Regions from separate parts of the Homo sapiens genome. Here regions 2, 3 and 4 are each linked to region 1. The links are contacts of gene promoters, found by promoter capture Hi-C in blood cells and fetal thymus (Javierre and others, 2016). All regions are on one chromosome and are shown on one strand. The core of a region is centred on a gene start or on the middle of the fragment in contact, and the rest is flanking DNA. Distances in the headings are between cores, read along the strand shown.

Evidence for each region. The method cuts DNA at HindIII sites, captures the fragments that hold promoters and counts their contacts. A CHiCAGO score of 5 or more calls a contact.
Region 2: a fragment that was not itself captured here is called in contact with the fragment with the promoter of KCNH4 in region 1 in 1 of 17 cell types (activated CD4 T cells); the score reaches 5.7 in activated CD4 T cells.
Region 3: a fragment that was not itself captured here is called in contact with the fragment with the promoter of KCNH4 in region 1 in 1 of 17 cell types (activated CD4 T cells); the score reaches 6.1 in activated CD4 T cells.
Region 4: a contact is called between a fragment that was not itself captured here and the fragment with the promoter of KCNH4 in region 1, in 2 of 17 cell types (endothelial precursors and monocytes). The highest score is 5.6, in endothelial precursors.

What each region holds. Positions count from the first base shown.
Region 1 is chr17:42,178,219-42,184,457 of GRCh38, forward strand. KCNH4 (potassium voltage-gated channel subfamily H member 4) reads right to left here and starts at 2,924. Exons shown (of 17, transcript NM_012285.3): 1 at 2,652-2,924; 2 at 575-808; 3 at 113-259; 4 at 1-9. The coding sequence starts at 2,727. HCRT (hypocretin neuropeptide precursor) reads right to left here. Exons shown (of 2, transcript NM_001524.1): 2 at 5,842-6,239. The coding sequence ends at 5,936. RefSeq lists enhancers at 165-666, 1,317-1,884, 5,448-5,507, 6,009-6,239 and silencers at 2,834-3,073, 3,080-3,355, 5,938-6,157. The HindIII fragment of the contact is 8,013 bases long and covers 1,207-6,239 here.
Region 2 is chr17:42,312,261-42,316,907 of GRCh38, forward strand. It overlaps STAT3 (signal transducer and activator of transcription 3), which reads right to left. Exons shown (of 24, transcript NM_139276.3): 23 at 4,529-4,641; 24 at 1,064-3,540. The coding sequence ends at 3,485. Among named protein-coding and RNA genes, the nearest start is that of STAT5A, 26 kb to the left of the region's middle. RefSeq lists silencers at 1-72, 143-242, 363-522. The HindIII fragment of the contact is 3,238 bases long and covers 1,533-4,647 here.
Region 3 is chr17:42,429,294-42,436,023 of GRCh38, forward strand. All of the region lies in intron 2 of LOC102725238 (a long non-coding RNA gene), which reads left to right. Among named protein-coding and RNA genes, the nearest start is that of CAVIN1, 9.4 kb to the left of the region's middle. The HindIII fragment of the contact is 494 bases long and covers 2,357-2,850 here.
Region 4 is chr17:41,983,890-41,990,533 of GRCh38, forward strand. DNAJC7 (DnaJ heat shock protein family (Hsp40) member C7) reads right to left here. Exons shown (of 14, transcript NM_003315.4): 6 at 6,375-6,493; 7 at 5,515-5,668; 8 at 4,843-5,007; 9 at 3,930-4,021. Among named protein-coding and RNA genes, the nearest start is that of CNP, 20 kb to the left of the region's middle. RefSeq lists enhancers at 4,055-4,555, 4,556-5,056. The HindIII fragment of the contact is 969 bases long and covers 3,003-3,971 here.

The DNA of each region.
Region 1 (6,239 bases), core at 1,674-4,173:
GGGAGTTTTCTGTTGGGAAGAAAGGTGCAGAGATACGTTGGGGCACATCCCTTGCGGCTGGTTAGGCGAAGGCTTCTGACCATTCACACTGCCCGTCCGGACTTGCTGTTACCGTGATTACTGTCCCCGCGGCCTCCTTGGGGGCCAAGTCCTGGGCTTCCACTCTGAGTGATATCCTTGAAGGAAAAGAGGAACAGCACGACCTCCCCCATCTCATTCTTGATGGGCATCATGTCCAGGAGGCACCAAAAGGCTGAGCCTGTAGGCATGGAGAGAGGGAAGGGAGGAGCATGGGCAGCCCCATGGCATGCCTTTCTCCTCATCCCTCTCATCCTCCTAGACATAGTTAAGAGCTTGGCAAAGCAAGAACCAAAAGGAACCTCAGAGATTCTGTCAGCCGATTCCTTCATCTTTCAAATGGGGGAACCCAGGACCAGAGAGGTCAGGGATACGCTCCGTCACAGTCAGCTTTTGGCAGTGTGGGGACAAGCACTCAGACTCCTACTGTGCCCAGTGCCCTCTGGATAAGGCTAGGGGTCTAGGCAGAGCTGCAGGGTGGGGTGAGCCCCCTCACCATCCTTGCGGTAGAAGCAGATTTCAGCCCGGTGCTCCTGGTGGCCCTCCAGGGCTTTGTGCAGACGCTGCAGGGCTGGCTCACTGGTCTCTGGGCCGTAGAGGAAACGGCAGCTGCAGGTCTTCTGCATGACCTCGGTGCGACCGTAGCCTGTGAGCTCGCAGAAGCCGTCGGAGCAGTAGACGATGGGAAAGCCCCGTGTGCCCTGTGCGTTGGCCAGCAGGAAGTTGCTGTCTGTGGGAAGAAGAGGTCAAGGTCAGGTCAAGGCTGGGAGGCGAGCTAGCTTCCAGGTGGGCAGCACTTCCTCTAAGTTGGGGTTAGAAGTCACAGAGCCAGAAGCTTCCCAGGTTTCCATGTTGCTCCTGACCCCACTTTGGGATATTCTGAATTGAGAATTGGAGAAGTTGGAGCAAAGAGACAAGGACTTGAGACAGGACTTAAGCAGGGTCTAACGGGGAGTTGGAGAAGGACCCCAGGAGGTCATGCCATCCATCCCCCTGCCTTCCAACTGGTGAGCTGTCACTGTAGAAGGCAGTATAGCATGGTGAGTAAGAGCCTGGGCTCCTGCAACCCTCCACTGCCACTTACTAACTGTGTGACCTTGGGCAAGTTGATGACCTCTTCTGTGCCTAAGCTTTCCTTATTTGCAAAGTAGGGCATAATAGGCCTTCCTCACATGGTCGTTGTGAGAGTTACATGAGTTAACTTGGGGAGAACAAGTCCTAGCACATGGTAAGTGCTACTCTGAGAAGGTGAAATTTTTTCCCCACATTCACTTGGCTTTCTTCCTATTACAGAGTAAGCAGGGCAGAGATTCTGATGACACCACACCCATTTATTGATAGGAAACCAAAAGGCAGAGATTATCCAAACTCACAGATCTCCTTAGTGTGGGGGCAGACAGTGATGAGTGCTGTCTTCCTTCCCTGCCTTCCAGAGAAGGTCCACTTTTTAGCATTCTTGTAGCTGCTTTCAGGGGATCTGCCCCACTGCTCAAAGTCTAATGGGAGAGGGCATTGAGCGTATAGCTCCAGCAACCCCCAGCAGCAGAACCCGAGCTGTCTCCCTCCAGCTCCAATGGGTGGGAGGCCAGGGGGACTCCTGTGGGCCATCCAGGGACAGAGACTCAGCTAAGAGATGGGGCCTGTGACACAACCAGTCCTGGTGCTCTAGGAGGGATGACTGTCTGGGGGCAGGGAGGCTGATGGGGACACTGAAGGTGCCTGGGAGGCACTGGGCTCTGGGCACAGCCTCCTTCTTCCATCCCAGGGCCTGTTGCCCCGGTGATGGGCGCTATGGAAACAAGGTGGTGGGGAAGAGGGTAGGGCCCGGCGGCTCAGTTTCCGCCCTCGGGTACCGCTCCCCCACCATCCAGATCCCGGCCAGGGTTCCCGAGGGAATGGCGGGGTTGGGGGAGGTGAGGGCGGGGAATCTCTGGGTTCCAGAGTGGGAAGAGGGAATGGCGGGAGAAGAGGCGGGGGAGGAGTGATGTGGCTGTCCAAGGTGCTGAACCTGAAACCCAAGCTACGTTGGGCGAGCTGGGAGTTCCCACCGTCGCACAGACCGCTCCCCTCCTCCTGCCTCACCCACCTTAGACACTGACGCCCCACGATTTGGGGGCGCGCGACCTCAATCCAAACTAGGTCCTGCTGAAGTCTGATCTTTTCTCCTTTTTTTCTGGAGGTAGTGGGAGCTGGAGTCTGTGAGTAGACCCCAGAATGCCCGGCCACTTTGCCCCACTTCTGTGTCTCGGATACCCCCATACACGCCCCCAGCACAGCTCTGCCCGAGAGTGGGCGGCTCCGAAGGACCCTCCTCCGCTCTGCCGCACAAAGAGCCTCTTCTGCCTCGAGTCACACCCCCTAACCTTGGCCCCCGTGCTCTCGGCCCTTTCCCCTCCTCCCCTCGCAGGGCACTCCCCGCCCTGTTCCTGCACCGCGGCTTTGGGAGTTCCTAGACCCGCACCTCCATTCTCTCCCCTCGCCTCGGGTCTCACCATGTCCAGGAGATCCGAGACGGCCCCGAGGATACTTGCCCCCCAGCTCGAACCTCAAGCCCCGACCTCCGTCCCACTCACGCGTTCCGTCAAAACGGGTGGCGATGGTGTCCAGGAAGGTGTTTTGCGGGGCCAGCAACCCCTTCATGACCGGCATGGCCCCGGGGCGTGGGTTCAAGGCGCGGCGCTGGGGAGCTTTCAGCGCGGCCGGGCCGGAGGGGGCGCGCTGTCGGAGGGGCCGGGGCGCCCCATGCGCCCTCCTGCCTCCTCCCCTCCCTCTTACTGCCGCTGCCGCTGCCGCTGCCTCTGCTCCGAACCCCGTAGCTCTCGGCTCGGCTCAGCGCCGTTTCGGTCCCCCCCACCTCCCCACGGGCCAGGTTCTTCCCCTCGGGCTCGGCCCGCACCCGCCACGTGGCCCCACACGGGGAGGGGCCGCTAGCGACACCCGCACCCCTCTGGGCAGCCCTCCTCCCAGAGGGGAGCGGCCCACGCGTGTCTCTCGGGGAGAGAATTCGGGGCACGCCCACCGGGAGGGGAGGCCTGAAATGATGGGCGGGGCTTGAATAACAGACCCGCCCTCTTCCAGGCTGGCCACGCCTCCACACGTGGTTCCCTGGCTGCTCCTTGTGGCTCCACCTCGCGGGTTTTCCCGCGCGGCGTCCACGCTGGGCTGGTGTCTGGTTCACAGTGCCGCCTACTGGAGTTGACATATTTCGCAGCACCCACAGGCCAGTAGCTCCAGCGTGAGACAGCAAGGGTTAAGAGGCTAGTTTGCTGGTAGAGAATGGACAATGGGAAGGCTTGAAACCCCAACTCTAGAAAGCACCATTCTTACCTCCTGCCTCAGTTTTCCCAAGACACCCTGGCGAACTCTGCCTACTGAGACACAGCATGGTGGAATGAAAAGAGCTTTGGAGTCCACCAGGTAGAGTCCCAGCTCTAGACACCAATCGTGTGATATCCTCTCCAAGCCCACTTTCCTCATCTGTAAAATGGAGCTGATAATTCTTACCTGATGCAGTTACCGTGAGAATGTAATACCATAATGCATGTCTTTGGTACAAAATAAGTGTCTTGAAGGGCAGTTGCCTGCCTGTTTTCCCTCTTCCTACTGTCTTAATCCTCCTCTCTGCTGCCCTTCAAGTGGAAGAGAGGCTGGAGGCAAGTTTGGGAGAAACTACCTCTGAAAAAGATAGTTTCGAGGTGGGCAGAGTCATGGCTTGCAAATCTCCAAGGATGCACATGTGAACTTTGACCTCTAACTTCTCCAAGATGGAACCAGTACAGCAGCAAGAGGGACCAAAGTGAGACTAGACACAGGACTTTCTCACTACCTATGCAGAAAATTGAGGCAGCTGAGTTCTGTGGCTGAGGGTGGCTGCTTCCCACGACAAAACAGCTGAAGCAGTGAAAGTGGGAACCCTATGGGCAAGGAGGGCAGGCTAAATTCTCCCCACCCTCTGAGCTAGGTATTATCTGGGATGTTAGATTGCTAAGAAGTGCCACATTTTTCTGTGTCTCTACTTTTGTTGTTGTTGTTGTTCTTGTTGTTCTTGTTCTTGTTGTTTTTGAGACGGAGTCTTGCTCTGTTGCCCAGGCTGGAGTGCAGTGGCATGACCTCAGCTCACTGCAACCTCTGCCTCCTGGGTTCAAGCAATTCTCCCGCCTCAGCCTCCTTAGTAGCTGGGATCACAGGCGTGCATTACAATGCCCGGCTAATTTTTGTATTTTTAGTAGAGATGGGGTTTCGCCATGTTTGCCAGGCTGGTCTTGAACTCCTGACCTCAAGTGATCCGCCCGCCTCAGCCTCCCAAAGTGCTGGGATTACAGGCATGAGCCACGGAGCCTAGCCTGTGTCTCTACTTTTGGATGTTATATTAGTTTCCTAGGACTGCCATAACAAAGTACCACAAAGTGAGTGGCTCAAACAACAGAAACCTATTGTCTCACAGTTCTGGATGCTAGAAGTCCAAGCAAGGTCAGGTGAAGAGCGTTGGTTCCTTCTGAAGGCTATGAGGGAGAATCTGTTGCATGCCTCTCCCCTATCTTCTGGGGGTGGGGGTGCTGGCAATTTTTGGTGTTCCTTGGCTTGTAGGAGCCAATCTCTACCTTCATGTTCACATGGGTTCTCCCTGTGTGTGTTTCTGTGTTCCAATTCCCTTTTTTATAAGGACGCCAGTCACAGTGGATTAGAGGCCCACCCTACTCTAGTATGACCTCATCTTAACTAATTGCATCTGGAAGGACCTTATTTCCAAATACAGCCACATTCTGAAGTGCCACGGGTACGGACTTCAACATATGGATTTTGGGAACACCAGTAACAGGTGTCTTTGGCTGGAGTTGCAGTAAAATCTTGTACTGCCCCTGCTTAAGAATGTCCCATGACTCTGTTACCTACAAGATAAAGTGCAAAGCCCGATGATTTGTGAGAGCCTTTGCGAGCTGTGCTGCACTGACTGTAACTGTGTCCCTTCCTGAGCCTCTCCACTCCCCACACCCTATACCCCATGATGCAGCCATTCTGGATGACTCATTGTTGAAGTTCAAATTCCCTGCCTTTTCAGCAGGATTGACTCCCACCCCTTCCTAGCTGGATTCTGCTGCTCTATGCAGCTTGCCTGCCTTCCTTCCTTCCTTCCTTCCTTCCTTCCTTCCTTCCTTCCTTCCTTTCTTTCCTTTCTTTCTTTTCTTTTTTCTTTTTCTTTCTTTTTTTTTTTTTTTTGACAGTGCCTCCTTCTGTTGCCCAGGCTGGAGTGCAGTGGCCCAATTATGGCTCAAACTCAAACTCCTGGGCTCAAGCAATCCTCTCGCCCACCATACCCCGCTAATTAAAAAAACTTTTTGGAGAGATGTCTCACTCACTATGTTGCCTAGGCTCGTCTCGAACTCCTTGCTTCAAGGGATCCTCCTGCTTTGGCCTCCCAAAGTGCTGGGATTACAGGCGTGAGCACCGCGCCCGACCGCTGCAACCTTTCTTGCTTTCCTTCCCCTTCCGCGTCTCTGGGTAAAGTCCCCGCTACAGAATGCCTAGCAGAGCATCGTAGGAGTCCCGCATGGCCCGATCCAAGCATGCACCTGTGCAGTTCTCTCTGTGCCCCAGGGCCTTGCACTGGGAACTCCCCAACCAAGAGTGTTTCCGATTCAACCACGCAAAAGCTAAGGCTGGTGCCCGACAGCCGGGCTTCCAGGCCCAGCTGTCCTCCGCAAGACGCTTTGCCACCCCGGATGGGCAGGACGCGACCGCACAGGAACAGAGACCAGTCACACGAATGGAGACTCGTCTTTATTGCCTTTTTTCTGGGGGCTGACGCTGGGTGGGCAGAGGGCAGAGGCCTGGGCCAGGACAGGGCCCGAAGAACGACTCAGATCCCGGACTGTCCTCCGGGCGCGACGGAGGCGGCGGCCGGGGCGGAACAGCGGCGCCCGAGGCAGGGGCGCGGCGCTGGCTCTGCGCCTGCGCGGCGGCCCATGGTCAGGATGCCCGCGGCGTGGTTGCCGCTGGCCTGCAGGAGGCGCTGCAGCCGACCCTGGAGGCCCGGGGGCCCGGACCTCCGCTTGCCCAGCGTGAGGATGCCGGCCGCGTGATTGCCCGCGCCGTGCAGCAGCTCGTAGAGGCGGCAAGAGCAAGTCTTTTGACGACAGCAGTCGGGCAGGGGCTGTGCAGCC
Region 2 (4,647 bases), core at 1,902-4,401, 130 kb after region 1:
TGCTCCCAGCAGCCTCGAAGCTGGCGGCTGAGGGCCCGGCGCCAAGATGCTTCTCAACCCTCGGGGCCAGGGGCAGTCCCAGAGCCGCAACAACCGTCCCATCCTCCTCCTTCCCAGAGACCAGCAGGTGGCACCACGCGGCTGCGCTGTTTTCAGCTGGCTGCCGGCGACTGTGCGAGGCGGAGGTGCAGCAAGCGGGACCGGCTCGCCCCGGCTGGACCCCCGCACTGCCGGCTGCAGCCAGTCCCTGCTGTCGCTGGGGCCCTTGGGCTCAGGGACGCGCGCTCCCTGGGCGGGGCTGGGAGCCAGGTTTGCGGGCAGGTTCCTTCTGAGCTCAGAGCTCAAGCGAGGGAGAGGGGCGGCGCGTGGGCCCCAAGAGGGAGGTGCAGGGGGCCCAGAGCAGGGGGAAGGCGGGGGTGGGAGAAGAGAGGAGGGGAGGGGACGGGCAGGTGCCACCGCCCCAGGGGGCTAATCTGATCCATCTCTGCGAGGGAAGGTGCTCGCTCGTAGCTCCCAGGCGCGGTCTCCAGGGCGCTGGGGCACGTGTAGGGGTGGGGAGAAGCCCTGTGGGCGCCCGCGTAGCTGAGGTTGGGGCGCCTTTCCCTGCATTATCACCGCTGGCTGCCGGGGGCCCTGCAGCCACCACCGGGTGTCTGCGTGTTGTCCCCGCTGGGTGAACTGAAGGGAAAGTGATAAAGGAGCCAACTGTGGAAGGGGAGGCCTTGGTGCGGTGGGAGTATCTACCCCCCACCCCGCTTAGGTGGCTTATCTGACCCCAGACAGGACGAGGCCGCTCTGGGGGGTAGGAGGGGGCCGGGGAGGGAGGCCTCCACTCTGACACCTTTCTGCCGTTGGACTATTGACCTCCTGCTCCTCCAGGCACCCCTTACCTCCGGGCTGGTGGCTAACATAAGGGGGTTGGCGGGGGGGATTAAGGCAACCACCTCCTCTCAAGACCCTTTCCGGCCCTTATCCCAGGCCCCACCTGTGTGTGAGGCCCCCTCAGAACTTATGCAGGGGAAAAGGAAGCCTCCACCAGCCAAACAGAGCTGCCATGCTATCAGACGGTTCCTATATAACGTTTATTTCTGGAAGTTAAAGTAGATACAGCAATATACCAAAAAAAAAAAAAAAAAAAAAAGACAAAAAACCTCACAATAATATAAATTTTTACACTATGAAGTACACATTGGAATTTGAATGCAGTGGCCAGGACAGCAGCTTATAAACCACCTTATAGGTAGGTAAGCAACCCACGGGATTCCCTCGGCTGGGCTGGGGATGGGGAGGGGGCAGTGGACAGGAAGCGGGCAGGGCCTGAGGACCCTGTTCTTTAATGGGCCACAACAGGGCTCAGCTCCTCTCAGAACTTTTGCTACAATCAGAGTTAAGACCAGATACATGCTACCTAAGGCCATGAACTTGACAATATCTGCTCCAGAGAAGCCCTGAACCCTCGCCCTAGGTCCCTATGATTTAAACCCAATGGTAAGCCCAAGTCTCACCTTTCTAAATATTCTGTTTATCAGTTAAGCTTATTATGTACTGAAGAGTGTTGCTGGAGAAGTAAGAGCTCTGCATGACACATCAACTGTCTCCAGGCAGGAGGACTGGGGCGAACCCTGTTCATCTTAGAGAAGGTCGTCTCCCCCTTAATTCAGAGACCAGCTAATTTGATTTAACAAACAGAATTCCACAGAAACTCTGATCAGCTGAGGCAAGGTGGTTTTGAGTTGCCAAATCCGGCCATGCCTCTGAGTCAGAGGCAGCCCATCCAGCACGTGCTAGGTGTTCCCATACGCACAGGAGAGGCGAGCTAGCCAGCCAAGGCGGGCAGGCGGGGAGGCCCTCTAGCTGTTCTGCCTCACCTGTGGGGCCCCAGCAGGGAGGAGTCACCAGCCTCAGAGGGAGGCCAGGTATACACCCTCATACGAGGGCAGACTCAAGTTTATCAGTAAGCCTTTGCCCTGCATGAACTGAATGAAGACGCCATTACAAGTGCCACTGGATATCACCAAGAAACTGGCTAAGAACCATATTCCCTGAGCTCAACCAGACACGTCGCTGGGGCCCCATAGTGTGCATCATGTCCAACCTGTAACTCTCTCCCCCTCTTCTTCCATGAGGTCCTGAGACCAGGATTCCTAAAACAAACAGGATGAGGGACCTTTAGACACGCAAGGAGACATGCCTCTAGCAGGATCAGGGGGACTGGGGTCGGGAGGGTGGGGCAGGAAGGAAGCCAGAATCAGAAGTATCCCAGCCCTGATAAGGCACCCACAGAAACAACCTAGCCTCTGAAACAGCAGATCAAGTCCAGGGAGAAAGGGAGTCAAGGTTGTAAGCACCCTCTGCCCAGCCTTACTCACTAAAAGGCCAATACATTACAAAGGAAAATAAGTCTATTTATAAAAAAAAGTCTAAAATGCTTAGATTCTCCTTAAACCTTCCTATTTCAACACCAAAGGCCAGGTTGCAGCTTCAGATGTCTTAAGGGTTTGACCTGAAGCCCGTTTCAGGGATTATATAAATTACCAGCCTGAAGGAAGCTGAATGCTTAAAGCACCAAGGAGGCTGTTAACTGAAGTTTCTTTTTTTTTTTTTTTTTTTTGAGACAGAGTCTCAGACTGTCGCCCAGGATGGAGTGCAGTGTGCAGTGGTGCAATTTTGGCTCACTGCAACCTCCGCCTCTCAGGTTCAAGCGATTCTCCTGCCTCAGCCTCCCGAGTAGCTGGGACTACAGGCGCCCACCACCACACCCAGCTAATTTTTTGTACTTTTAGTAGAGACGGGGTTTCACCGTGTTAGCCAGGATGGTCTTGATCTCCTGACCTTATGATCCGCCTCGGCCTCCCAAAGTGCTGGGATTACAGGCGTGAGCCACCATGCCCGGCTGCTTAAGTTTCTTAAATACAGAAAGGCTATGCTGATACAGTGTTTTTTGCCCTTTAATTGTTATTATTTCTTAATTTAAAAAGAAACCTAGGGCTTAGATAGTCCTATCTTCTATTTGGATGTCAGCAAGGTTAAAAAGTGCAATGCCAGGAGTATGTAGCTATAGGTGGCCTGTGGCATTTGCTTACAGAAACAGGCAGAAGGATGCCGCAGGCACCAGGAGGCACTTGTCTAAGAACAACAACAACAATAACAAAAAGCTGCTGAGAAAGGAGGGCAGGGGAACAAAACAACACAAGACATTTCCTTTTTCTCCCTCTAGCCACCCCCCGCCACATCCCCTGATCATGGGTCTCAGAGAACACATCCTTATTTGCATTTAGATAAAAGCAGATCACCCACATTCACTCATTTCTCTATTTTTAAAAGTGCCCAGATTGCTCAAAGATAGCAGAAGTAGGAGATTAAAAAAAATCTGGAACCACAAAGTTAGTAGTTTCAGATGATCTGGGGTTTGGCTGTGTGAGGGGTGGCAGAATGCAGGTAGGCGCCTCAGTCGTATCTTTCTGCAGCTTCCGTTCTCAGCTCCTCACATGGGGGAGGTAGCGCACTCCGAGGTCAACTCCATGTCAAAGGTGAGGGACTCTGGAGGGACAGACAGGGAAAACTAGTTCAGTTGTCCACCCTCTGCAACTGGCAGGCCACGCCCCCAGCCCTTCAGAGGACAGGGCCCAGGCTACCACTGCTATCCAATCTCCTGCCCCTTAAGGCCCAGGGATGGTCAGAAAAGCCAGATTTACCCTCCTCCCTGGAGGACCCTGCCTCGGGAAGGGTCCTTTCTCATTCCCACCTTAACTGATTCCCAGAGCTCCATGTTTACAGAAGCTCTAAGGCTGTCCTGAGATCTTCTGCCCTTGATCTACTGTTTAATTCAGGAGCCCCGAGACACACGTGGCCACCAAGCATTTGAGATTTGGTTTGTCCAAACTGAGCTGTGCTGTGGCTGTCAAAAGCCCACTGGATTTTAAAGGCTTAGTATGAAAAAAAAGAATAAAAAAAGGTCTCAACTTTTTCTTTTTAGTTTAGTTTTGTTTATTTGAGATGGAGTCTCACTCTGTCGCCCAGGCTGGAGTGCAGTGGCACGATCTCTGCTCACTGCAACCTCCACCTCCCAGGCTCAAGCGATCCTCCCACCTCAGCTTCTTGAGTAGCTGGGATTACAGGTATGCGCCACCATGCCCAGCTAATTTTTATATTTTAGAGATTTTGGTCAGACTGGTCTCGAACTCCTGACCTCAAGTGATCCACCCACCTCGGCCTCCCAAAGTGCTGGGATTACAGGCATGAGCCACTCACCCAGCCTCAACTTTTTCTGAAATGTTAAATTGAGAGTATGTTGGATTTAGTGGGTTAAATAAAATATATTGTAAAAATTAAGTTCGTCTATTTCCAGTGTGGCTGCTAGAAGATTTATACTCACACATGTGGCATTCATACCATCTCTTTTGGAAAGCAAAGCTCTAGAATCTCCTACCATTCCGAGTGACCAGCTCTCGGTGTGTACATGTGAGAGCATCACACAAAGGGGACCAACTTCCCTTATAGGGACAAAGTCTGTCAACCAAATACTCACCAAACTGCCCTCCTGCTGAGGGTTCAGCACCTTCACCATTATTTCCAAACTGCATCAATGAATCTAAAGTGCGGGGGGACATCGGCAGGTCAATGGTATTGCTGCAGGTCGTTCTGTAG
Region 3 (6,730 bases), core at 1,354-3,853, 250 kb after region 1:
TTATTGGCGTGAGCCACTGCACCCGGCCTTTTTTTTTTTTTTGAGACGGAGTCTCGCTGTGTTGCCAGGCTGGACTGCAGTGGCGCGATCTTGGCTCACTGCAACCTCCGCCTCCCGGGTTCAAGTGATTCTCCTGCCTCAGCCTCCTGAGTAGCCGGGATTACAGGCACACAGCACCATGCCCAGCTAATTTTTGTATTTTGAGTAGAGATGGGTTTTACCATGTTGGCCAGGCTGGTCTCAAACACCTGATCTCAGGTGATCCACCCAAAGTGCTGGGATTACAGGCATGAGACACCACGCCTGGCCACCCCCAGCATTTTTTTTTTTTTTAAAGACAAAGTCACATTCTGTTGTCCAGGCTTGAGTGCAGTGGTGCGATCTCAGCTTGTTGCAGCCTCGACTTCCTGAGCTCAGGTGAGCCTCCTATCAGCCTCCCATGTAGTTGGGACTACAGCTGTATGCCACTACACCTGGCTAAATTTTTTTTTTTTTTTTTTTTTTGTAGAGATGGGGTTTTGCCATATTTCCCAGGCCACTCTTGAACTCCTGGGCTCAAGTGATCTGTTCACCTCGGCCTCCCAAAGTGCTGGCATTACAGGTGTGAAACTCTGCACCTGGCCAGATGCATAGTGTCTGACACAGCTGAAAGCTCCCCCCCAGCATAGGGAAAGCAGTCACTACTCTCAGGAAGAGTGGGGAAGGGTTCACAGGTGAGGGTAGGTACAAAGGAGGGGGAAAGGACCCCCTCCCAAACCCAGTATCTTGCGGTGTGAAAGGGCACTGGGGAATAGCCAAGCACTGCTCATCTCCTCTTATCATGGTTCTGCCATAAGTCTTATCAGTTTACATTTAGGGAGATCCAGCAAAGGGTGTAATATGTAATATGTTCTGTTCAGTTTTGGATCTGTGCTGGGAGAGATCCCAGGGAGACTGTGTGTTTTGTTAATAATAAACAGCTGGGACAAATGATGTGTCTTCACATTGGGACAACCGTCTCACATGGGAGGCTAGCCCTCAGCAGCTGGCTCACAGCTGCCACAAACAACAGTGATTTTTTTTTTGCCAGTTTTATAGGCACTATTCTTGTCTCTCTGATATACATATATGAAAAATGCCTATAATATTTGTATGTTTCTCTTTCTCAAAATCCCTTCCTTTCTTTGCCTTCAAATATTAATATATAGGGTAACTTCCCTGAACCAGAAAACAGTCAAAATTATTTATTAAGTGCTAATTTATGCATAGTTTGGTGCTAGAAACCATCCAAAGGACACAACCAGCACTTTTGCTGTGGAGTGGGAATTTTAGTTTCAGAGAAGCAGTGATTCAGGCTAACAAACAGAAAATACAAAAAAACAGGAGAAGGGGGCTGCAGAAAATAAAGCAAAATACATACAGTTTTACCAGCGTGGGCAAAGTGGTAAAACCCCGTCTCTACTAAAAATACAAAAATTAGCCAGGCATGGCAGCGTGTGCCTGTGGTCCCAGCAACTCGGGAGGCTGAGGTGGGAGGATTGCTTGAGCCCAGGGGGCAGAGGCTGCAGTGAGCCAAGATCGCACCACTGCACTCCAGCCTGGGTGACAGAGTGAGAACCTGTCTCAAAAAAAAAAGCAAAACTAAGAAACCCTAGATTCCACCAATTGTTTCTCCTTTTCTTTCTTTCTTTCTTCTTTTTTTATGTTGTTGCCCAGGCTGGTCTCAAACTCCTAAGCTCCTGCCTTTGCCTCCAAACTGTTGGGATTACAGGCATGAGCCACCACACCCAGCCTTTTCTAATTTTATTTGAACTCTGATTTAGCACTGCTGACCAATTTATCTTTGAGATTCTTCCCTCTTAGCCTTGGACACTGTACTATTTTTATTTACTTGTCCCATTTGCTAGCTTATTTTTTCTTCCTTTCATTTTCTTTTTTTAAATAGCTTTATTTATTTATTTATATTGAAACAGGGTCTTGTTCTGTTGCCCAGGCTGGAGTGCAGTGGCATGATCACAGCTTACTGCAGCCTCAACCTCCCAGGCTCAAGCAATCCTCCTACCTCAGCCTCCCAAGTAGCTGGGACTACAGGCATGCACCACCACACCTGACTTACTTTTGTATTTTTGTAGAGACAAGGTCTCACTATGTTCTCCAGGCTGGTCTTGAACTCCTGAGCTCAAGCGATCCGCCTGCCTCAGCCTTCCAAAGTGCTGGGGTTACAGGCATGAGCCACTGTACCCAGCTAATTTTCAAAAATTGTCGTAGAGATGGGATCTCGCTGTTTCCCAGGCTGGTTTCAAACTCCTAGGCTCGGCTTCCCAAAGTGTTGGGATTACAAGCATAAACTGGTACATTTGGACAAAAAAAAAAAAAAAGCTTTTAATACTGCTTTAAAAGGTTAAACAATATAACTTTATTGAGGTAGAATTCACATACCACACAATTCACCTAAAGCATACAATTGAATAGATTTTACCATATTCACAATGTTGTGCAAGAATCAACTTTCATCAGCCCCCAGAAAGCCCCCGACAAAGAAAAAACACTAAAGGGAGACTTTATCCTAAAGAATGTTTGCAAGGAGGGGAAAAAGACTGTTGCAATACGGGGAGGGAGTCTATTGCAATAGGGAGAAGGATCGGCCCATAGTTCTGCAAATGTCTTAAGGGCCAGACCTTTTTCCTTTTATAGAGAGGAGTAAACAAAGCTAGAAAGAACCAGGTGTAGAGAATAGGAGGAAAGTGGCCTGATGAGAGAATAGATCAGAGAATGTTTTACCCTGAGGTCAGGCTATCCTCAGGAGGGGTTGTGTGCTGGCTCAGGCCCAGTGAGGGTGGGCCAGAGTTCAGGGCCTGGAGGAAGAAGAAAAGCTTAAACAAAATGTGTTATTTTTTTTTTTTGAAACGGAGTTTCGCTCTTGTTGTCCAGGTTGGAGTGCACTGGCGCTATCTTGGCTCATAGCAACCTCCGCCTCCCAGGTTTAAGAGATTCTCCTGCCTCAGCCTCCCGAGTAGCTGGGATTACAGGCATGCGCCACCATGCCCGGCTAATTTTTTGTATTTTTAGTAGAGACAGGGTTTCTCCATGTTGGTCAGCCTGGTCTCGAAGTCCCAACTTCAGATTACAGGCTTAAGCCACCGAGCCCAGCCTTTTATTTATTTATTTATTTTTGAGACGGAGTCTCACTCTGTCACCCAGGCTGGAGTACAATGGCGTGATCTCGGCTCACTGCAACCTCCGCCTCCCGGGTTCAAGTGATTCTCCCACCTCAGCCTCCTGAGTAACTGGGATTACAGACACACGCCATCATGCCCGGCTAATTTTTGTATTTTTGTAGAAACGGGTTTCACTATGTTGGCCAGGCTGGCCTTGAACTCCTGACCTCAGGTGATCTGCCCACCTTGGCCTCCCAAAGTGCTGAGATTACAGGTGTGAGCCACCACGCTGAACCAACAAAATTTGTTTAATGAGCATTTTGTTCATCGTGATCAGTGTTGGGAAAACCAGTTTAGCTGGTCATTCATGAGGCAGAGAATAAGAATTTGAAGTTCTGTGTCTGTTCCTGTCACAGGTAAACAATGGGGGGCATCTGCGAGTCACATGGGGAAGGGTGGTTCTTGGCAGTAAACAAAAACATAGGGGATTCCTTTAACCTTGGATGTTTTCCAAGAGCACAGGGCTCAGGTGAAATTCACCACTGTTACCTCATACCCATTAGCTGTCACTCCCCACTCCTCTCTTCCCTGTCCCCTAGCAACCAGTAAGTTTTAAGTCTCTATAGATTTTCCTGTTCTGAACACTTCATATGAATGGAATCATACAATTTGTAGCCTTTTGTGTCTCGCTTCTTTTACTTAGCATGTTTTCAAGGTTGATCTATGTTGTAGCATGTATCAATACTTCATTCCTCTTTATGGCTATATTCCGTTGTATAAATATGCCCCATGCTGTTTATCCATTCATCAGCTGATGGACGTTTGAGTTGTTTCCATTTTTTTGTTTTTTTAAGAGACAGTCTCCCTGTTGCCCAAGCTGGTGTGCAATGGCACAATCATGGCTCACTGCAACCTCAAACTACTGGTCTCTAGCCATCCTCCTTCCTCAGCCTCCCAAGTAGCTTGGACTACTGGTCACAACAGGCTAATTTTTTTTTTAGACGGAGTCTTGCTCTGTCACCCAGGCTGGAATACAGTGGCACAATCTCGGCTCACTGCAACCTCTGCCCCCTGGGTTCAAGCAATTCTCCTGCTTAAGCCTCCCGAGTAGCTGGGATTACAGGTGCGCATGACCACGTCTGGCTAATTTTTGTATTTTTAGTAGAGACGGGGTTTCACCATGTTGGTCAGGCTGGTCTCGAACTCCTGACCTCATAATCCACCCACCTCAGCCTTCCAAAGTGCTGGGATTACAGGCGTGAGCCACCATGCCCCGCCTAAACCAAATATCTTTCCTCAAAAGCTAGAATGCTTCTTGGCTTATTTCTGTTGATGGTGGGACCGTCCTATCAAACACCAGAGACTCCAACCTTAGAATTATATTTATCTCCTCTCTTTCTCTCATCTACTAAAGCAAATGAAATCCCAGATCCTGCCTTCCTTCCTTCATTATCACTCCCCTGTAATTCCCATTTCTGTGACTGTCTGTCTGATCCTGTTGTTACCAGCTGATGGCTGTTACTGTACTTTCCTAGTTTGTCTCTGTGTCTCCAACCTTTTCCTTCCAATTCATAATGCATTTTAGAATGAAAATTGATTTGAAAAACTGTAAATGATAGTTTGGAAGGTGCTGGGACTAGAAAAAAGGAGATCTAACAGGAGACTACTGCAATAGTCCCAGCAGGGGAAGATGATCATTTGAACTAGAGCATTACGGGGCACAGAGAGAGGACTGATGGGTGAGCACTATAGCATGAAAACCATTAGGGCTTGATGAATGAGTACATGTAGATACTGAAGGAGAAGGAGGAGTCTAAAATATTACAATTTTGGCTGGGTGCAGTGGCTCACGCCTGTAATTCCAGCACTTTGGGAGGCCAAGGCAGGCGGATCATTTGAGGTCAGGAGTTCAAGATCACCCTGGCCAACATGGTGAAACCCTGTCTCTACCAAAAAATACAAAAACTAGCCGGGTGTGGTGGCGCATGCCTGTAGTCCCAGCTACTTGGGAGGCTGAGGCAGGAGAATCACTTGAACCCGGGAGGTAGAGGTTGCAGTGAGCTGAGATCACGCCACTGTATCCCAGCCTGGGTGACAGAGCAAGACTCTGTCTCAAACAAACAAACAAATTGGCAAATAAAGAGAATCAATGAAGCATTAATCCTACCTTTTCTGGCCGGATGAAGTGGCTCATGCCTGTAATCCTAACACTTTGGGAGGCCGAGGCAAGAGGATCACTTGAGGTCAGGAGTTTAAGACCAGCCTGGCCAACATGGTGAAGCCTTGTGTCTACTAAAAATACCAAAATTAGCCGGGCGTGCTTGTGCACACCTGTAATCCCAGCTATTCGGGAGACTGAGGCAGGAGAATCACTTGGGCCCAGGAGGCAGAGGTTGCAGTGATCACTCCATTGCACTCTAGCCTGGTGGACAAGAGTGAAACTCTGTTCCAAAAAAAAAAAAAAATCTTACCTTTTCTGTTTGGATTGTACCTCTGTGTAACCAAATAGCGGCTGGGTGAAGGAAAGCACTTATTTATAAAATAATTTCAGCTCATAAATAAAGAAGGAATGATGGATTAAAATGTCACTATTTTGTAGCCTCTAGTGAAAAAATGAGCTAATGATCATTAATGCCCGCTAAAACTATTAGGCAGAAAATTGTGGGGAACTCTATTATATCAAAGTAACAACTCAACCCACTCACTAATCTTTGTATTTATTTATTTATTTTTTTGAGGCGGGAGAATGGCTTGAGCCTGGGAGGTGGAGGCTGCAATGAGCTGGGCTTGTGCCACTGCACTCCAGCCTGAGCGACAGAGTGAGACCCTATCTCAAAAAAAAAAAAAATTTAAGTATGATAGCAGCATTGTGGTTATGTTTTTAAAAAATTCGTACATTTTTGAGATATATACTGAAGTATTTACAGATGATATGATATCACATCTAAGATTTGATTCACAATAATTCTGGCGGAAGTAGATGGGATATAAATGAAACAAGCTGGACTATTTGTTGATTATGGTTGAAGCTGGGTGATATGTACATAGGGATTCATTATCCCGTCTCTGCCTTCTGTATCCTTAGGTTCCACACCCATGGATTCAACCAACTGTGGATAGAAATTATTAGGAAAAAAATTCCACAAAATTCCAAAAAGCAAAATATGAATTTGCCAAGTACTGTGTTGAATCCACAAAAATGAAGTGATGTGTGGGCATCGTATTAGGCCTAAGTAAGCTAGAGATGATTTAAAGTATATGAGAGGATGTGCATTAGGTTATATGCCAATACTACACCATTGTATTGTATTGTATTGTATTGTATTGTATTGTATTGTATTGTATTGTATTGTATTGTATTGTATTGTATTGTATGGTATTGTATTGTATTGTATTATTTTTTGAGACAGGGTCTTGCTCTGTCTCCCAGGCTGGAGTGCAGTGGCACGATCTCGGCTCACTGCAACCTCTGACACCTGGGTTCAAGTGATTCTCCTGCCACAGCCTCCCGAGTAGCTAGGTTTACAGGCACCCACCACCACGCCTGGCTTATTTTTGTATTTTTATTAGAGACAGGGTTTCACCATGTTGGC
Region 4 (6,644 bases), core at 2,237-4,736, 190 kb before region 1:
AGGAAAAAGTTCCTTCTGACACACAGCCACCTAAGAGGTACTGGACTGCCTTAGAAAAGACAATGTGAAGGGATCTACTTGATTACTTTGGGTTGAAACACACAAGAGAAAAATTATCAAGTGAATAAATGGGTATGAAAGAGCTTTGAAACCTATAGTGCCATAAACATGCAGGACTAGCTACAATCCAGAATAGAGGTGGGATTAGTGAGCCACTAAAAGGATCAAGTTCAACGTGGCAGCTGCTGGCAAATCCCTCCACTAAGACCAATCAATGAGAGATGCAGGTAAATGAGACAGAAAAGGGAACTCTAAACACAGGTTTGCTTCTATTTCAGTAGCACAAAAGAAAGGAGGGGCCCTTGGCCCAAGATCGGAGGAATCAAGCTTGACAGGATGATTGCGAGATCTTTTTTTTTTTTTTTTTTTTTTGAGATGGAGTCTCGCTCTGTTGCCCAGACTGCAGTGCAGTGGTGTGATCTCGGATCACTGCAAGCTCCGCCTCCTGGGTTCACGCCATTCTCCTGCCTCAGCCTCCAGAGTAGCTGGGACTACAGGCGCCCGCCACCTCGCCCAGCTAATTTTTTATTTTTTTTTTTAGTAGAGACAGGGTTTCACCGTGTTAGCCAGGATGGTCTCCATCTCCTGACCTCGTGATCCGCCTGCCTTGACCTCCCAGAGTGTTGGGATTATAGGCGTGAGCCACCGCACCCGGCCGACTGCCAGATCTTTTAAGTGTCTCTTCCACAGAAGCAAGTGGCATTTTCCATGCCCAGATAAAATCACTGGCACCAGGGCTGGCCTACCAATTGAAGACTGTGGTAGGAGTTCCAGAGACAGCCACTGTCAGCTGGGGAATGGGAAGTGATCATGCAGTACAGCTAGCTGCTGTACAACAGAGATTCAATTTCTTACCTGCTACCACACAAGCCCATTTTCTTTCTTTTTTTTTTTTGACACAGAGTCTCACTCTGTAGCCCAGGCTGGAGTGTAATGGCACGATCTCTGCTCACTGCAACCTCCGCCTCCCAGGTTTCAAGTGATTCTCCTGCCTCAGCCTCCTGAGTAGCTGGGATTACAGGCATGTGCCACCACACCTGGCTAATTTTTTGTATTTTTAGTAGAGATGGGGTTTCACCATGTTGGCCAGGCTGGTCTCGATCTCCTGACCTGAACCGATCTGCCCGCCTCGGCCTCCCAAAGTGCTGGGATTATAGGCGTGAGCCACTGCGCCTGGCATAAGCCCATTTTCACAAACATCACAGATCCCCACCAGCTTGGAGGCCAGGGCAGGAGAGTGCTACCAATGTGGCTGGCAAAAGAGAAGCCCAACATCTTGGGCATCTTTGATTTTCTGGCATCATTTTGATTTATGACTTTAAAAAAACCAATGGCCTGCAAATACAGGACATAAATATTATATTAGGAGTTCAGAATCAATGTACAGAATAAAATGTAATAATTTGAAGTAAGAGAAATGATACTTTGATACTGCACTCCAGCCTGGGTGACAGAGCTGGATCCTGAATTAAAAAAAAAAAAAAAAGGAAAATTGATAGCTGATAGCCCTGGGTATAGAATGATGTGACAAATGATTAACCCTGATGAACTTTCTTTAGGTCTATATGTAATGTATTAAACAAACTATACTAATTTGCATTTTTACTTCATGCTTTTTAAAATTCAGGGATATCCTCACATTTTAATTTTGTTTTAAAGTTGAAGTAGAAAAGTAAATAGGGCTTTAAGGAGAAAGGGTGAACTCTAGCTCATGATGGCATGTGTAGCAAAGATGTGGGTGGGTGGCATCTCCCCAGCTTTAGGGGTAAGTTGAGGCAGACTGCAGCAGTAGTCAGGCCAGATGTAAGGGTTTGGCCCGAGCTAATCTCCAGTACTTCTTGTCAATTCCAGCTGCTTCAGGAGATTGTTGCCAAATATTCAGCCAGCTGAACAGGGCATGCTGTCTCCCCTGTAGTGATCTCAGAGGCAGAGCCACTCCAAGAAGGGCAGTTCTGTTTCTACCACAAAGATAAGAAGTTGTCTGATCAAAGCAATTCCTTATTTTCATTTCTTGCACATAAACAAAGAAGAAAATAATCCTTCATCCAATTATCCTCCGAGCAAATCAAGAATTTTCTATGGTGTTGGGGGCTTGCTTAAAAAAAAAAAAAAAAAAAAAAAAAAAAAAAAGGCCGGGCGCGGTGGCTCACACCTGCTGGTAATTCCAGAACTTTGGGAGGCCAAGACAGGCAGATCACTTGTCATCAGGAGTTTGAGAACAGCCTGGCCAACATGATGAAACCCCATCTCCAATAAAAATACAAAAATTTGCTGGGTGTGGTGACATGCGCCGGTAATCTCAGCTACTTCGGAGGCTGAAGCAGGAAATTCGCTTGAACTCAGGAGGTGGAGGTTGCAGTGAGCCAGTACGGTGCTACTGCACTCCAGCCTGAGCGACATAGCGAGACTCCATCCCGAGCGACATAGCGAGACTCCATCCCAAAAAATAAAACAAAGCGATTTTTCTCTTCTCTTCCCATCCCCTGGCATTCCATATACAGAGCATTCCATTAAGTTCATACAGTATCAAGTATCTAGCCACCCCCTTCCCACTGGACATGTAGGTGATTCTCCCCCCGCCTTTTTTTTTTTTTTTTTTTGCTATTATAGATAAAATTGCAGCAAACACCTTCATGTATATAGCATTTTGCGTCTGTTAAAGTCAGTCTTTGGCTGAATCAAAGGGTGCTTTTTTTGTCTTCCAAAGCTTCTGCTTCTGTGTGCCAGTGGTTTGCAAAGATGGAATGACTGACAGTCAGTCTCACAGAAGTTATAATTCCCTGTATGTTTCTGTTGGACAGACTTAGTCATCAACTTAGAAATTCACTTTTAAAAAAAGCATCACACACAGCAGCAGTTTTCCTATTTTAAGTGAGATAATTTTGAGAAAACTAAGTGGGAGGTAGTCCATGAGATATTCTGTACCACTGATGAGACAAGGAAGCTTAAACTACTGGCTCATCAGGCATCAGTGACAGCATCTGTTCTTTGGATATGACATTTTATAATAAGGAGTGGAGCAGGTGCTGGAGGATTAGTATACAATAAATACATCTTCTCTAAGAACTTTAAAGACGGGAAGTTTTTCTCCGCCTAGAGAATAATCTGAAATCAGAAGAGATGGATTTCTGAGAAAGATTTCTCCTAGCCCTGTTCCTATCTGGAGAAAACCAGCTGGTGGGTCTAAGAGTAAGAGGAGCAACCATGCCAGGGAGCACCCTGACTCTGGGGCAAATGTGAGCATTAGAGGTAGGCACATCCTGGCTCATAATCACCCTGTCAGACACAGAGTGCCCTCCACTCAAAACACTCAAGCAGAGAGTAGCCATCCAGGGTGTTTCAAAAGGAAGTTCCTTTATCCTGGGAGGCTGAGCCGGATTACATCTCTTCCAACTCTAAGATTGTCTTCCCTCGCCCAGAACAAACAGGATGAAGTACAACTCTCAACTGTCTCCAAGAGTTGTTTTCTCTTCCAAGCACCATACATTCATTCAACAAAACATTTATTCAGTGAGCACCTATGTGTCAAGCACTGTGCCAGGGTAGAGCATAAGTGTACAACACAAAATAAAATCTCCAAAGGAAATGGATTTAAACTTTTTAACAAAAGGAATTTGGGTCAGGCATCAGAGGAAACTTACTGACCGTGAGGGGCGTTAGACACAGGCATGGGAGACTGAGGGAGCTTGTGCAATCTCCTCCGCTGGAGGTCTATAAAGATAGTCTAGGGCTGGAACAATCCCACCTAGAGGCAGGGGGAAGGACCAAATGACCTCACAACATCTCTGGGTCTGCTTCGTCATCCACAAGGCAATTCCCCTGAGGCCAGCGGCAACTCCCTCTTCCCCCTACCCATCAGAGGCACTTACCACTGAGCTCTTCTCAAGTAGGCTTTTATGTAAGTGTCATCAAGCTTCACTGCATTTGTGCAGTCTTCTATTGCATCATCTAGTTTCCTAAGCTTCAGGAGAGAGAGAGCAATCATACTTCACACCTTTGGTGACTGAGGGAGCCCAGAAGCTGTGAGCATGGCTTCAAAACTCTAAGAGGATCAGTCATGCTGGCCCCTTAAATGTCATATTAAGTTCTAGTTCTTTGTCACCAGGGCTATGGACAGCAACTTCAAAATTGATTTCTCTTGTATATGATACAAGCCAGGCACATCTGTCTTCAAGGATAAACTACCTTTACCATTCCATGTTAGTGCCCAATGAAAACATGAAAATAGTAAGGCTGGTTCCTGCCCTCCTTTTTTCCAGAGGTCACCTGCAGGGATCAGAAATCACTCTGATTTTTAACTGCTAGAATTCTGCAAGGGCAAGGAGTCTACTTTTTGTTTCTGATGTTGGGTAGGGCCACAAAAGCACTCAGGCCATTTTCAACCATGCATGGTGACCATCAATTACACTGGAGAAAAACAAGCTTGCCTCATACTCTTCCTCCAAATCACTCCTAAAAAATAAATGATCACTTGCATAAGCAAAACAACAAAAAAGCAACAGTAGGTGCTTAAGATTATCCCACAGACCCTAGCCATTCTCTTACTGGAGGAAAGGGACCTTAATGAACAGGTGAGAATATCCTTGCAAATTGTCCAACTGCCCTCAAATTCCATAGAGATGACAAAAGCTTGCCTCTTGGAAGGGAGTTCCTAACAAACTATTAACCATAACAACTTTCCCTCTTTCATCTTGCTTACCCTCACTAGGCAGATTTCCCAAGACCCTTTGATGTCCCTTAAAAATATTTCTATAGGCCCCAAGATCTAGATCAAGAGCTTACCTTGGAATTAACCGTACCCCGATTACAGTAGAGTTTAGCATTTGTTTTTATATTGTTGGGGTCTATCCCCAGGGCTTCTGTGTACAGTTCATATGCTAGTTTGTAATTTCCTTCCTTAAATGCTTTATTCCCATCTTCTTTCTTTGCTTTGAGTGCTTTGGCATTCTACAGAAAAAAGCAAGGGGAGGATCGGTTCATATCCACAAAGCCTCAGACCATTGCACAGAGAGGCCAGACTCTATTTTCAAGTTCTTTGCTTCCAGCAGTTCAGCATCACAGAGCCCCGCCAACCCCCAATCTGGGCTATCTGTTGCTCATTTGAGCTTCCTACAGAGTGGACAGGAAAAGAGTTACCAAAAATACCAATGAGACCTATGTTACTGGGTCTGCCTTCACTTCTCAGGACAAGTATTACTATCTATCTTCACTGAGGGGAAAAACAAAACAAAAAAACCCTCTTAGATATTAAAGGCATCCGACCCTATATGATCACATCTACCTTTAGGTAAATACAAGTAGTCCTGAAACCATTTCTAATAAAGACCAAGCATCCTTGCAAAGCAGGAGGAAAAGCTATCACATTCCTTGTGATTCTAAAACCTTCCACTCTAGCCATCTTAAAGGTCCCAAAAGGAAGCTCTTTCCCAGTTAGGTCTGGTGACTAGAACTTACTCTGCAGGCAATGCAGGCCTTCTCGTGGTCAGGAGCCATCCTGAGAGCCTGTACGAAAAACTGAACTGCCTTCTCAATACAATCTTCGTAATAAAGGCAAAGACCTCGTACATACAGAGCATCTGCATTGGTGGAATCCATTCGTAGAATGTCACTGCAATAGTCAGAAAAGGGCACATTGAGCTGTGCTTTAGAATGTCCCCACCATTACTACCATTTGTGGCCAGTTTTCCTCCTTGACCATGTGTCTAGCATTCAAAATATCCAAAGGTAGACAGATTCCCAAGAACTGTTCCCAAACTTTCCCCAAATAAACCACCTATAATTATCTTTAATACACATCTTGTGTCTTACAATCCTTATTAAACTAGAACAGGGTTTGGCAAACTACAGCCCACAGGGCCAAATCCTTTCTGCCACTGGTTTTTGTAAATAAAACACTATTCAAACAGCCACACCCATTGGTTCATCTATTATCTAGGGCAACCTTTGCACTGCAATGGCAGAGTTGAGTTAGTTGCAACAGAGACCCTGTGGCCTGCAAAGGCTAAAATCTGGCCCTTTGCAGAAAGTGTGCCAACCAGTGGAGTAGAAGGAAAAGGACTACCTTAAACAAACAAACAAAACCACAAAAACACAATCTGTTCTTTCATATATAGCTCAAGTACCTGCTATACTACTATACTCCTGTATACCCTACGGGTTTTCAAAGCTGGTCTAATCTTTGACTTTAAGTCCCAAGAGGGTCTGATCAGCCCTAGCTGGCCTACTCTGGGGACCATATCCTGTGGTGAAGCTGCCGGACACCATCAGTCCAATGGTATCTGGCATTTTAATGTCCAGCTAGCCTGACTGCATACCTAGCCACAGACTGTGCTTCTGGATAACGACCCAGCATTGCTAAACATTCTGCCTTGAGGATTTTGAAGCGATGGCAGGCAGGGGCAAATTCTAGGGCACGGTCCATGCAGAAAACAACCTGTAGGGAAGAAGAAAACAAATAAGGCTCTTCATCAGGGACTCCAGAAACATCTTCACTTTAGTTTAGTCACAGGTAACAGACTCAAAACTCAATGAGGTCTTTGGGTCCACTTCTAAGTAATATCAAAGTTTAAAAACATACCTAATTC